Regions from separate parts of the Homo sapiens genome. Here all the other regions are linked to region 3. The links are contacts of gene promoters, found by promoter capture Hi-C in blood cells and fetal thymus (Javierre and others, 2016). All regions are on one chromosome and are shown on one strand. The core of a region is centred on a gene start or on the middle of the fragment in contact, and the rest is flanking DNA. Distances in the headings are between cores, read along the strand shown.

Evidence for each region. The method cuts DNA at HindIII sites, captures the fragments that hold promoters and counts their contacts. A CHiCAGO score of 5 or more calls a contact.
Region 1: a contact is called between a fragment that was not itself captured here and the fragment with the promoter of ATP9B in region 3, in 1 of 17 cell types (M2 macrophages). The highest score is 6.2, in M2 macrophages.
Region 2: a fragment that was not itself captured here is called in contact with the fragment with the promoter of ATP9B in region 3 in 2 of 17 cell types (M2 macrophages and M0 macrophages); the score reaches 7.3 in M2 macrophages.

The regions. Positions count from the first base shown.
Region 1 is chr18:79,208,538-79,212,474 of GRCh38, reverse strand. The region is part of intron 10 of ATP9B (ATPase phospholipid transporting 9B (putative)); the gene reads right to left. Among named protein-coding and RNA genes, the nearest start is that of ATP9B, 140 kb to the right of the region's middle. The HindIII fragment of the contact is 2,916 bases long and covers 1-2,710 here.
Region 2 is chr18:79,247,472-79,251,441 of GRCh38, reverse strand. The region is part of intron 11 of ATP9B (ATPase phospholipid transporting 9B (putative)); the gene reads right to left. Among named protein-coding and RNA genes, the nearest start is that of NFATC1, 150 kb to the left of the region's middle. RefSeq lists an enhancer at 647-1,433. The HindIII fragment of the contact is 2,033 bases long and covers 1,573-3,605 here.
Region 3 is chr18:79,067,404-79,071,155 of GRCh38, reverse strand. ATP9B (ATPase phospholipid transporting 9B (putative)) reads right to left here and starts at 1,762. Exons shown (of 30, transcript NM_198531.5): 1 at 1,627-1,762. The coding sequence starts at 1,745. The HindIII fragment of the contact is 22,095 bases long and covers 1-3,752 here.

The DNA of each region.
Region 1 (3,937 bases), core at 3-2,502, 140 kb before region 3:
TTTGCAAGAATTAATCAAGCTAGAAACCGTTGAGCTGAAAGCAGGTTGACTGATGAGCAAAGTGGACTCTAGAGTGGCCTTACAATGCACAGTACCTCAATTCAATGTGATACATAACAAGGCATATGTTATACATTTTTAACAGAGGTCCTGGTACAATATTTGTATAATCTGTTAAAGTTTGCTAAAGGCTCTCGTAAGTATTCTCTCACTTGATTCTCATGAAAAATCAACACTTACTAGAATTAGATTAAATGAATTTTTCTGAGTGTCATGCTTTTTAATATCTAACGTAACTAGAATCAGTGCAGAAATATTTGGGACATTTTCCATTCTCTTTCACAAAGGGTATGTACTTATGAAGTACAATAGGCTAAAAGACTGAGTAAAACCTGAGTATACAAGGCAAAACAGAGGAAAGGGATTAACTGTGGATTGCGAAATGAGACATGAGAGGGCAACAAAGTATGATAAACTCATTTTGTGTCGTATAAGATAACAGGAGACTGAATGTGACAAATATAAATGTCACAAAGATTTCTCACTCAATGAAATACTTAAACAGAAGAATTCCAAAACTTTAACCCATATTTTCAGTGTAAAATCAAGATCCACCTCCCTCACAACGCGCTCCAACTGGAGAAACTTCTACATCAGAAAGACCTGAGTTCAGGACCATGTTGGTAGATTAAAACCACAACCACAACAACAAACCAGTTCTTAACAGGACCCTAAAAATGATGGTGGTCCAGTATTCATCATTAAATCAAAAATTTAACTTCATTTATCCCAAGACAACATTTTAAAAGATTTAGGAGCACTTAATCTTCAAAGCCAGTGATTACATTTGCCTGATCCATAACTGCACACTTCAAATTGACTACAGGTAAAAATTAATATTAAATATTCAGATGCTTTGGGTCCAAAAAGGGAGGCATAAAATATGACCACATTTACTCCTACACTCCACAGACCCCATGACTAGGGCCCTCGAGACTTAGCCTACTTCAAAGAGGCTGCTATGTGGATGGTCTGCAAGTCATTCTATAGTCCAACCCTATCATGTCCAACTTCTGTTCAATCACAATTTCATGTGAGTGGGATAATAATTACTCTGTTAGTTACTATGTGCCTTCCTTGCTACAGGCTATATAGAAAATTTCATGCAAAATTATACCACCTTCTAATTGACTACAGTTGTATTTTAAGCAAACAACTTCCATGTTGCAAAGCAAGACAAAGAATGCTAACAAGGTCAAATTTTGTAGAAAAATATACTCTCCTTTATTTAAACATTTCTAGTTTATACCAGAAATCATAATCCAGCACTTCCAAACAAGTAGTCCACTCAATATTTCAAATGATAGGCCTATTGCAATACTTTTAGTTGCTATTTCTAACCACTGATATGTTTAATTTGCAGATAACCAATCCTCACAAATTCAAATTAATTAAGATGATTCATAGAAAATTATTTAAAAACACAAAATATAAAACCTAGACCACTTTAACAAAACAATTAATGGCCTTAAGTTATCAAATCAAAATGATGTGAAATGCTTACTAAAAGTAAATATGTATTTCATGTGTGTCTAATGAGAGACAGAGGTATTAACAAATCAATGTATTTGTTGACTCTCAATTATACACCCAAAACCTGCTAGATACCGTTAGCAAAAGCAGGCAGGGCCACATACACCAGCCTCTGGAACACACTCCAACTCGCAGATGCCCTCCAGGAGCCAATTTCCACAGAACCCCAGTGTGCACTGCTCCCTGGGGCAGGCGCTCCCGGGCTGGACCCGATGATAGCAAGGCAGACACTGAGCACTGCACGTACAACTCCAACCACGCACCAAGTGCAGGAAAACTGATGAAGACCGTGAACTGAGCCCCAGGATGTAAACAACCTAGACCAAAACTGGTGCACAGACTACAAAGGAGACCCCCAACCAAGGTCTAGAGTCCACACAGCCAGGACACAGAGACACAGGTGACCCACACCCAGGTCTAGAGTCCACATGGCTGAGACACAGAGACACAGAAGACCCTCACCCAGGTCTAGACACCACACGGCTGGCCCACTGAGTGACAAGGAGACCCGCACCCAGGCGTGGGTCCACATGGCCAGGGATTGCCCTCTGACAGCCCCGTCACACTTTTGTCAACCTTGCCTTAGAGAGCCCAGCTTTCCTTCCAGTTTTGTGACAGCTGAGTATCAGGAACACTCCTTTGTATGCTCATCAGTATAATAAACACGATGGTTCTCCAGGACCCAGTTCTGCATTTTAGAGAGCAAGTTTTCTGGATCCACATGGGAAGTGAAACCTCCGGCAGCACAGCAGGCTCTCTGTGTCCTGCCTTGGCTCACCTCTCGTCTGCTGCATCTGCCTGTCTGTGTCTAACCTGAGTCCCGGTTCCCATGCATTCAGAACTCTAGGGATGGGGAGGAAGCACTGAGTTCACTTCCCCTCCAGAGTCAACTTGAATTCAACTGAGATACGACTTTTAAAGTATAAGAGTAAAAGGAATTCTCAACTTGTAATCAATTACAAAGAATACAAGAGTGCCTAGGTTACTCTGGAAATCTTAAAATCTTTCAAACATTCCTTAGGATATAGCAGTGTGGTATATAGAATGTGTAACTGTTCACATTAACAAGGCTTTTAAATAAAGATATGTATGTACTAAAAGAGCTGAAATTAAAGCTTACATTTAAAGATGTTCGAATACAAACTAACATTAAAGGTACCTTAATTAAGCTTCTCGAGTGGATGGTTTTAAAGCCGTCTTCATGCCCACTAGGAAGACACAACACTGAATGCTAGATGGCAAAGAGAACAGAATGGACAGGATGGGGCCGGCATGTTACGATGCCTCATTAGTGTCCAACTAGTCGGGCCCACTTGCCAAGGTCATCAAGAGAACTGAGGTCAGGAGAGAAAACTTTGTTCAGGGAACCGTATGGGATGTCTCAAAAGCCTTTAGCTCAAGCAGCTTTAGTCTCCCTCAGGAGAAGGGTCACAAATCAACAGTACTAGGGATCAGTAACAACATTTAATATATGTTTATGCAGCACCAGGAAAAAAAGATGAAATTTATTTTTAAAAAGGGAAGCATTACTATCTTCACGAATGATTCTTAATTAACAAATATCAGTGAGATGGAAGAAACAGGCTGCAATAACTATGTATGGAAAATGTAAGTCTTCTCCCCATGTGTCAGCTTCTGAGTCCTGTATCATAAATGCTTTCGTGTAACTACTGAAGGCCGAGCACTCAAGGACACTGGCTTTCAGGGAATGCACAGCTGGACTCCATTCTGGTCCCTGTGCAGCCTGGCTCTATGGTAACTGGCAGGGGGAACACACCTCCCGAGTGCAGCCATTCAGCGTGAGGCCAGGCCAGCACTGACCACACTCACCACCTGGCGGAGAGGCTGGCAACACTCATGCCTCTCAGCAATGCCAAGGCAGCAGCATGAAGAAGGCTGGAGGGCAGGTTTCCCTGGCTAAATGTGCCTGCCCATGGTGTGAAGACCCTTACAGAGCTCAGGGCCCACTTGTCCACCCCAGAAGAGTCCTCCTGGCATGAGGTCCCTCTCGAGGCCTACAGAGCCCAGAAACTGTCCTGCTCACCTCTGAAGTCTCTTCATGGAAAACTGTCTTGTTCTCTTTCTTTGTATGTTAAGAAATTTATATACGTATGTTTATATATATATACACACACACACATAACATTTATATGTATGTAACATTTATATATAGATGTAATTTATATATAAATAACATCATGAAACACCCACAAAAATTGTCACCTATTAAAACTGTCATATACCCATCAAGCATTTTTTAAAGACACAAAACACTAGGATAAGATGAATCCTCTTTCAAATTCTATCATCCAAAAAGCTAACATGTGTCCTCCTCCTGGAGTTC
Region 2 (3,970 bases), core at 1,340-3,839, 180 kb before region 3:
TATGTTATAAAACAGAATCATAAAATAGTAAGTTTTCTTTTCTAACCAGGCTTGTTTTAAATCACTTCCTGTGGCCGACAGTCAGCACTACCATCGGTTAATAAATACTTCATGGCCTTTCACAACAGTAGCGATGACAAGGACCCTAAAGCCATGGGACTGGTGTGCCGAGTGTGGGTTCCATGACCAACACAGACGGGATGCCGCATTCAGCGGGGTGGGGCGGCCCCTCCTGTGATCTGTCCTGCGCACACTGCCACAGGGCTCACTTGGCCACTTCACTGTGTAAGACTCCTGAGGACACTTCAAACACAAAGTGTCAGTTTTATATGAAATAGTGACTTGATTCTAATGTAACAATTAATGAGACACTTGGCCTGCCACAAAAACTCTTCTCCATGTTGCAATACAGCAACACAGACAGCAGCTCATTTTCAACAGAAACTCTTCAAAGACTGCACATTCCCAGCTCTATATTCTCCCAAGAAAGCACACTGCCCTCTAATTCACAGCAGCAGATCCCCTTCTAGCCAAGTAAAACGTCCACAGCAGCATCTCGGAGCTCCAGCATGGGGCTTTCTCTTCTCTGGGTCAGCCACAGTACCAGTAACAGCGCCGCTCCCCCAGATCACAAATGGTCGGAAAGGGAGCGGTACTCAACCAGTTCTGAAGTTCCCAACGCTGCTGCGGGTATGGGCTGTGCCTTCCCTTGAGAATGGGGCAGCTGAAGACCACAGCGGCTGATTTATCAGCTCTATTTAAAAAGCAGCACAACCAGGACAAATATCGTGCAATTTCCGCTACTTCAACTACTACATAGTTTATGCTTGAATTATTGAGAAAAATAGGTTTTTGGATTAAAATGAAGAAAAATTAAGCCAGGGAAGTAGAGCATGTTTCAAAGCCCAGATCCTTTTGCTGTGACAAAGGCGGTCTAAGTTTCAGGCCTCACTGAGGATCAGATGAAGTCATTATTCATTCACTCAGGGAAAAAAGACTCAATTACCTCAACCTAAAGATGCTATCAATGAATGCAAAGTGCATATTTTACTCTATTCATCCAAATCCCATTAAAAAGTGAAAGGAATGATTTAATCTGGCCTTCCAGAGTTGGTCTTTTTTTGTAATAAAATAAAGAATCACTGTCTTGCAAAATGCATAACCACCACCTCACACTTTCCCCTGCAACATAGCAGTGAGGAACTGTAAAAGCCAGGACAAAAACATTCAGAAATGAATACAAAGTTTCCTTTCAAAAAATGCCACGTATTGGATGGAAACATTCAAAGCCGCCCACTGCACACCGATATGCAGATCATCAAAGCATTATTACCTTTCTCATTGATGAAGACAGATGTGGTCAGATGCTTGACTAGTGAATGTAATCACTTTGAAGCCAAGTATATGTTGTCTTCTCCCAACCCCTTTAAACTTAAGAGCAATAAAACATTTAGTGGAATAAAATATAACTTTTCAAGGATGGGCTGTGCCTTGCAGGTGGCATTTTCTGAACTATGACTGTTGTTCCTGGAATATAACTTGTAACCAAACTACAGCATATAGTGTAAAGCTTGTAGGTTGCTTTTATTTTATTTTATTTTTTCAATTCTAACAAAACAGAAGAAAAGACACATTTCAACACTTGCATTTTTTTAACCCACTTCAATTAATAATCTTTTAATATTCAATTTCTCTGAAACATGCTTTTCTTCAACTGATCTAAAATACAATCTGAACTCTTATAAACTATTTAAAATAAAAACCAGTTAACTTATAAAGTTACAGATTCTATAAAGAAGGTGGTAACTTTAGTTTTGATGTGGATCTCTTCCTTCTTTAAAAAATGTCTTAAATACCTGGACAGACCAGATAACTTTTGCCATGACTGTAAACTTTTCACCCATAAAATATATTAATCACTTGAAGTAATTACGACTATTTAAGAAAAGGTAATGTAAATACACTTAGAAGTTATTTTCAACATTCATTGTCATCTCCTATATTAGTAAAGCAAATTTTCTTCTACTTGTCATAATATTTATTTGAAACAACTGCAATAACAAAATTAAATATGCTACTGCAAATTTTAATCTCCAAGGGAAAATTTGTGCATAATGTCTAAGACAACCACAATGATTCTGCAAAGGGGCTGTTCTAGGATAATGAACACAATAATTGCCTGTATAATCTAAAATGCTACTAATGGCAACGATCACAAATCCATTTAGCTCCTCTTTAATTTATGTACCAAGTTTTAAATAGCTAATGGTTCTCAGTAAAATAATGGTTTATACCAACAATAAAGGGTAAATACGGTATTCTCCTGCTTAATCAAGAAAAGATCAGGCTTTTTTTTTTTTTTAAATGAATGCTCGGACGAGTGAGAATCAGACCTTATCTCCATGACACAGCAACACTTCAAACCATCTCAAAATTAAAACTCACATCATACTACTAAGTTCCTAAGCAATCAATGTACACGGCAAATTGGAGCAGACGTCGAATGCTGTAAAGTCTCAGGCCCTATCCATGATTCAACAAAGTGCCTGTGCAACACTTACTGCTGATGATGTCACCCTGGGTGAACAGGATGTCGGCATCCAAACACTCTCACCCATCTTTTAAAACTCACGCGTACTTACCCCTTACAAAGAAGTAGTTTAGAATAGTAAAATGCAAAACTTCAAATAGCCAATTTAAACTCTTGCAGAAAACTAAATTATTTTAGTTTGTCCTGTAGTTTCCCTGTGAATATAGGACAATTTGAAAAGCCTCGACTCTGACACCCAATTCATTCATGCTACTCTGCACTAGCAGAGAAGAACAGCTTTGTACATGGCTGACTACGTACAGAAAAACACAACTGTTAACACTGCTTGTCTTTCATCAGCTGAACTATTTGTGGATCAGTTCTTCATTTCGAATTTGGACCCTGACTACAAAACTGATATAGGGCTATGCATTAACCTAACTGAAATTCCTATAAAAAGCATATTCTTTTAAGTATCTTTGAAACAAATAAGCCCTATATTTTCCACTGCTAGTAGAATCTTAAGAGACAAGAAAAAAATAAGTAATTTTCAGACCTTCATTTGTGTTTCTGCATTTCAAATAAATGAAACTCATGCACTAAATCTAAGTACTAAATTTTAGAGCAACAACTTTTCCATTACGAAGTTTAAATTAAAAGTATTAGTTTTTAAAAAGTGATGCTACATAGTCTTTTTCCTTCTGAAGTTTATTATTCTTTTTTGGATATGAACTACTAAGCCTTAAGTGTGTGTAGTACATGCAGGCTGACCGCACACTATAGATGTGGCTGAGCCATTATCGTTTATCGCCTCAGTGATCTGCGAAATAAGAAGGGTTTCTTTTGGCCATTATAGTCTGTTGGCTCAATAATCTGTGCTTTAAGAATTCCCTAAATAAGTATCAGCACAACAATTCTTAATGTTACAATTTATCACCTTAGTTCTTAAAAATCAAAACCTGTATTTACACAATAGACAATTTAAAGTCTATTCTGAAAGAATTATTTCATAACCTACATGTTTGCCTACCAAGAAATTTAACATTTTGCCTATTCTATACTCAGAATTTAAGCTTTTTCCCTTGCTTGCTATATAGTTATTATATAAAATGTTTTCCCTTGAACATTAACATAAAAAAGTACTATATTTTTTGTATAAATAAGAAAAGTATTAATGCAAGAATCAGCTACTAAACAGGGAAGCAAAACCACGTTTGAAACCAACATATGACACGTAATTAAGAGACAAGGGAGTTCAAAGTAAACCCTCACACCTAGTTTACACAAACTGGAGCTACCCAACTTTTGATGTTACAGACTATGCATATTGATTGTCACTCTGTCCGCCGACCTATATAAACATGTTTTTAAGGATAAAATTATTACTAAAATTTGCAAGCATATTACCTGCTAAGTTTGAAGGGGGCTTCATGAGTGCAG
Region 3 (3,752 bases), core at 513-3,012:
GAGCAAGCACTGTAAAAACTATACCAACACCTAATCTCAAACACACTATAGGGATACCAAAAAAGTGTCCAAGTAACCCAAAAAGTGGCAAAAAAAAAAAAAAAAAGAAACAGGAATCAGAATGAGAATCAGAAGAAACAGAACACAGATAATAAATGGCACACTTATATTCTAACATATCAGTAATTATCGTAAATGTAAATGGTGTAAATATGCCAATCAAAAGAGAATGGCATAGTTGATAAAAAATATAAGATCCAACAAGAAACTCACTTCAAATTCAACATAGGTAAGTTGAAAGCTAATACCATGCAAACATTAATCCAAAAAAAAGCATAAATGGCGACATCAATATCTAATAAAGATTTTAGAGCAAAGAAAATTACCAGAGACAGAGGAACATTAACAATGAAAGGAACAATCCACCGAGATGACAAAAAATCTTGAATGTGCGTGCACCACATGACAGTGCTTCAAAGTACATGAGGCAAAAATGGATTCAATCTGTGATGGAAACCTATTTTGAAACAGGTGGCACATTTCCAACTAAAGAACTCCTAAAATTAAACAGATTTACTAACACAATTACTGTTATAGGTAACACCAGAACCCACTTCCAACCAAGCACTGAAAAAAGGGCACCTTACACATGTTCTACTGTAATCTCCAATAATCCCGTAAGAAAAAATATTATCCAGCATTTTACAGATGAGGAAACCATGGCTTGAGTTTAAATAAGTTACCCGAGAGTAAATCGCTAGTGGGTAAACACTCAAATCAGCGTTATAACATTCCAGTATGTACTTTGAGCTATATGTTAGTCTCTCAAATGGCCGAAAACAAAAATTATTCAAAAACTCAAATTCTGAAGCAACTACATATTGAGTGAAATTATGTTTTCGACAATTCCTCTGGAATAAAACTTCAAAAACTATAAGAAGCAACACTTTTTAAAATTTTCTTTTCTTTGAATGAGAAATGTTAAATATGAGCTAAATGCAATCTCGAGTATGAAAGGTCTGTACACTAATTCTACTGCTAACCTGTGACCCCACTAAACAAGTTAACCGTTCTCAATACCCCATTTCCCTTTCGTAAAAGCAAAATTACTTGTCGACAAAAAGCACTTTGTATATATATGTTTAAACAAAAAGTGTGCCTAGCAAAGATATCGAAATGTCGAAGAGAAGTCATTTCAATAAGAAGTGTGTTTTTAACAAAGCAATTAAAAGTTACATCCGTCACCTTCACAATTCACAGGGCTACAAGAACAAGTTTCGGAGACTCTGAAGTATCCGAGAAGTTAGCACTTTTGATCCCCGTTTACTTTAGGAGAGCAGCCACCCCTCAACACTGGACCGCGGTTCTCTGCTCCCGTTCTGGCTCCTACGCTCGGCCCAGGCGTCCCGGGGATGCAGCCGCTCGCCCCGGCAGCTGCCCGCGGCCCTCACCACCGGCGGACGCCACAGCTGCGGCGCGCTCAGAACGCCAAGGACTCCCGGCTCCCAGCGAACAGATGGGGCGCGCCGGTAGCGACCCCAGACCCGCCCGGCTCCGGGTTCCTGCGGTGGGCTGGGGGCCCCGGGGAGCGTCGGCGGGGAACGGGGCCAGTGCCGCCTCGGTTACCTGCTGTGCCGGTCGGCTCCCGGCCTGGGCCCCGCGGCGCTGTAGTAGGCCGCGCGTTTGCGGTTGGCTGCGGCCGCCGCTGCGCTACGCACCGGGTAAAGCGGGATCTGGTCCGCCATGTTCCGACCGCCCCTTTCCCGCCCCTCCCACTTTCCCCTCAATTCGCCACCTTTTCCCCGCCCTCTCCCCTCAGCGCCAACCCCGGCTGAGGCGCCGCCTGCGGGCCTTCCCCGCCTCCGCCAAGCGGCGAGGTCCGATGACGTAACGAGCGGCGGCGCGGAAGGTGTGGCGTCCCTAGGCCCCGCCCTCGTTTGGCGTCGGCGCACGATGACGTGCCCAGGGTGGCAAAAGCGCGGCGCAGGAGGCAGTGGAGTCCGGGCAATGACGTCACGAGTGGCTAAAGCTGGGACGGGGGGCGTCGCGTTCCGAGGCCCCGCCCCCGCCTCGTGACGGGCCCGATGACGTCACCGATCGGCGGGGCGGGGCGCGCGTGCGCCACAGGCTGGCCTTCCGGTAGCGCGCGAGGGCCTGCACGTGGGTCGTGGTTCGACCCGGCGCGCTCTGGTCCGCGGGTGGAAGGGCCTCGCAGCCGTCTCCTGGAAGCTCTGCCGGGGACACGCGTGGGCGCGCGCGGCCTCCTTAGCGGTCCAGAGCCTGCGCTGCCAGTAGTACGCGCGCCCCATGGCTGTGTGGGGCCCCACGCGCCCTCCTCGCCGCGCGGCTTCTTGCTTCCGCCCCGCGCTTCTCCAGCCTGCCTTCGGTGCCCGCTTCCTGCCCGCGCCCTTGGAACCGCTGGTGTCTGTGCGTTCACAGGCAGGGTCGTGCTACGTGGCCCGGGCCCCCAAAGCGCCGCGACTGCAGGCGCGCCCACCGCGCCGGGCTGAATTTCCGAGATGTTCTTGTCCTGCTTCCTCACTGCTGCTTCCTTCTTTCTCTGGTTCTGGGTCTTTAGCTTGATTCCACATCCCCCACCTCTAGGCCCACAGCCTGCTGAAAAGTCCTATAGGCGACTGTCAGAAACGAGGTTTACACCCTCAGTCTACACAAGAAAGCAAAACGATATTGAATAAACGAATACACGGCTTTGGTTGGGTTTGTTTCATTTCCTGTCCCGAGGACAGCTCCCTTCCACCTCCATCACCCGCTGCAGCTGGAAGCCGGCAAGCTGATGCACCGCTCACCTCACGTATTAATGGTTTACTCACTTTGTGTTTTTTTAAACAATGTTTTTCTGATATTCCATTTTCATGACATATAAATTTTGTCTATGTGTTTGAAACACTGTTCAACATGAACTTATAAATGCTTTTCTTTTCTGTTTTTTGGAGATGGGGTCTCTGTTACCCAGGCTGGAGTGTAATGTTTTGATCACGGCTCACTACATCTTCCACCTCTCAAGGTTCAGGTGATCTTCCCCCATCTGCATGTATTACTTTTTCATTATAAAAAATGGTCTTTATGAATATGAATATTCTTAATTTGTTGCTGCCACTCTGATTGCCAGTTTGCTTCTCAGCTGCTTTTCATGTAACCTGAATACATGCCACTCCACAGACACTAACTACTTTCAAAAGACGCCAATGGCCTCCTAATTGACAATGGCCTCACCCATTATTTCTCTACCTCACTCTCAGCCGCTGACACTGTTCACACCATCTCTCACCCACATTCAACAACTGATATTGATAACACCATCTCATTCTCACAGCACTGGCACTGTAACACCATCTCCTCACCCTCACTCAGTACCTGACAGTGATAACGCCGTCTCCTCACCCTCACTCAACTACTGACAGTGACAACAGCATCTTCTCACCCTCACTCAACTACTGACAGTGACAACACCATCTGACCCTCAGTCAACACCTGACAGTGACAACATCTTCTGACCCTCACTCAGCAACTGAAAGTGACAACAACATTTCTTCACCCTCACTCAACAACTGACAATGACAACACCTTCTCCTGACCCTCAACTACTGACAGGGACAACACCGTCTTCTCACCCTCACTCAATAACTGACAGCAACAACACCATCTCCTGACCCTCACTCAACTACTGACAGTAACACCATCATCTCCTGACCCTCACTCAACATCTGACAGTGACAGACCATCTCCTCTCT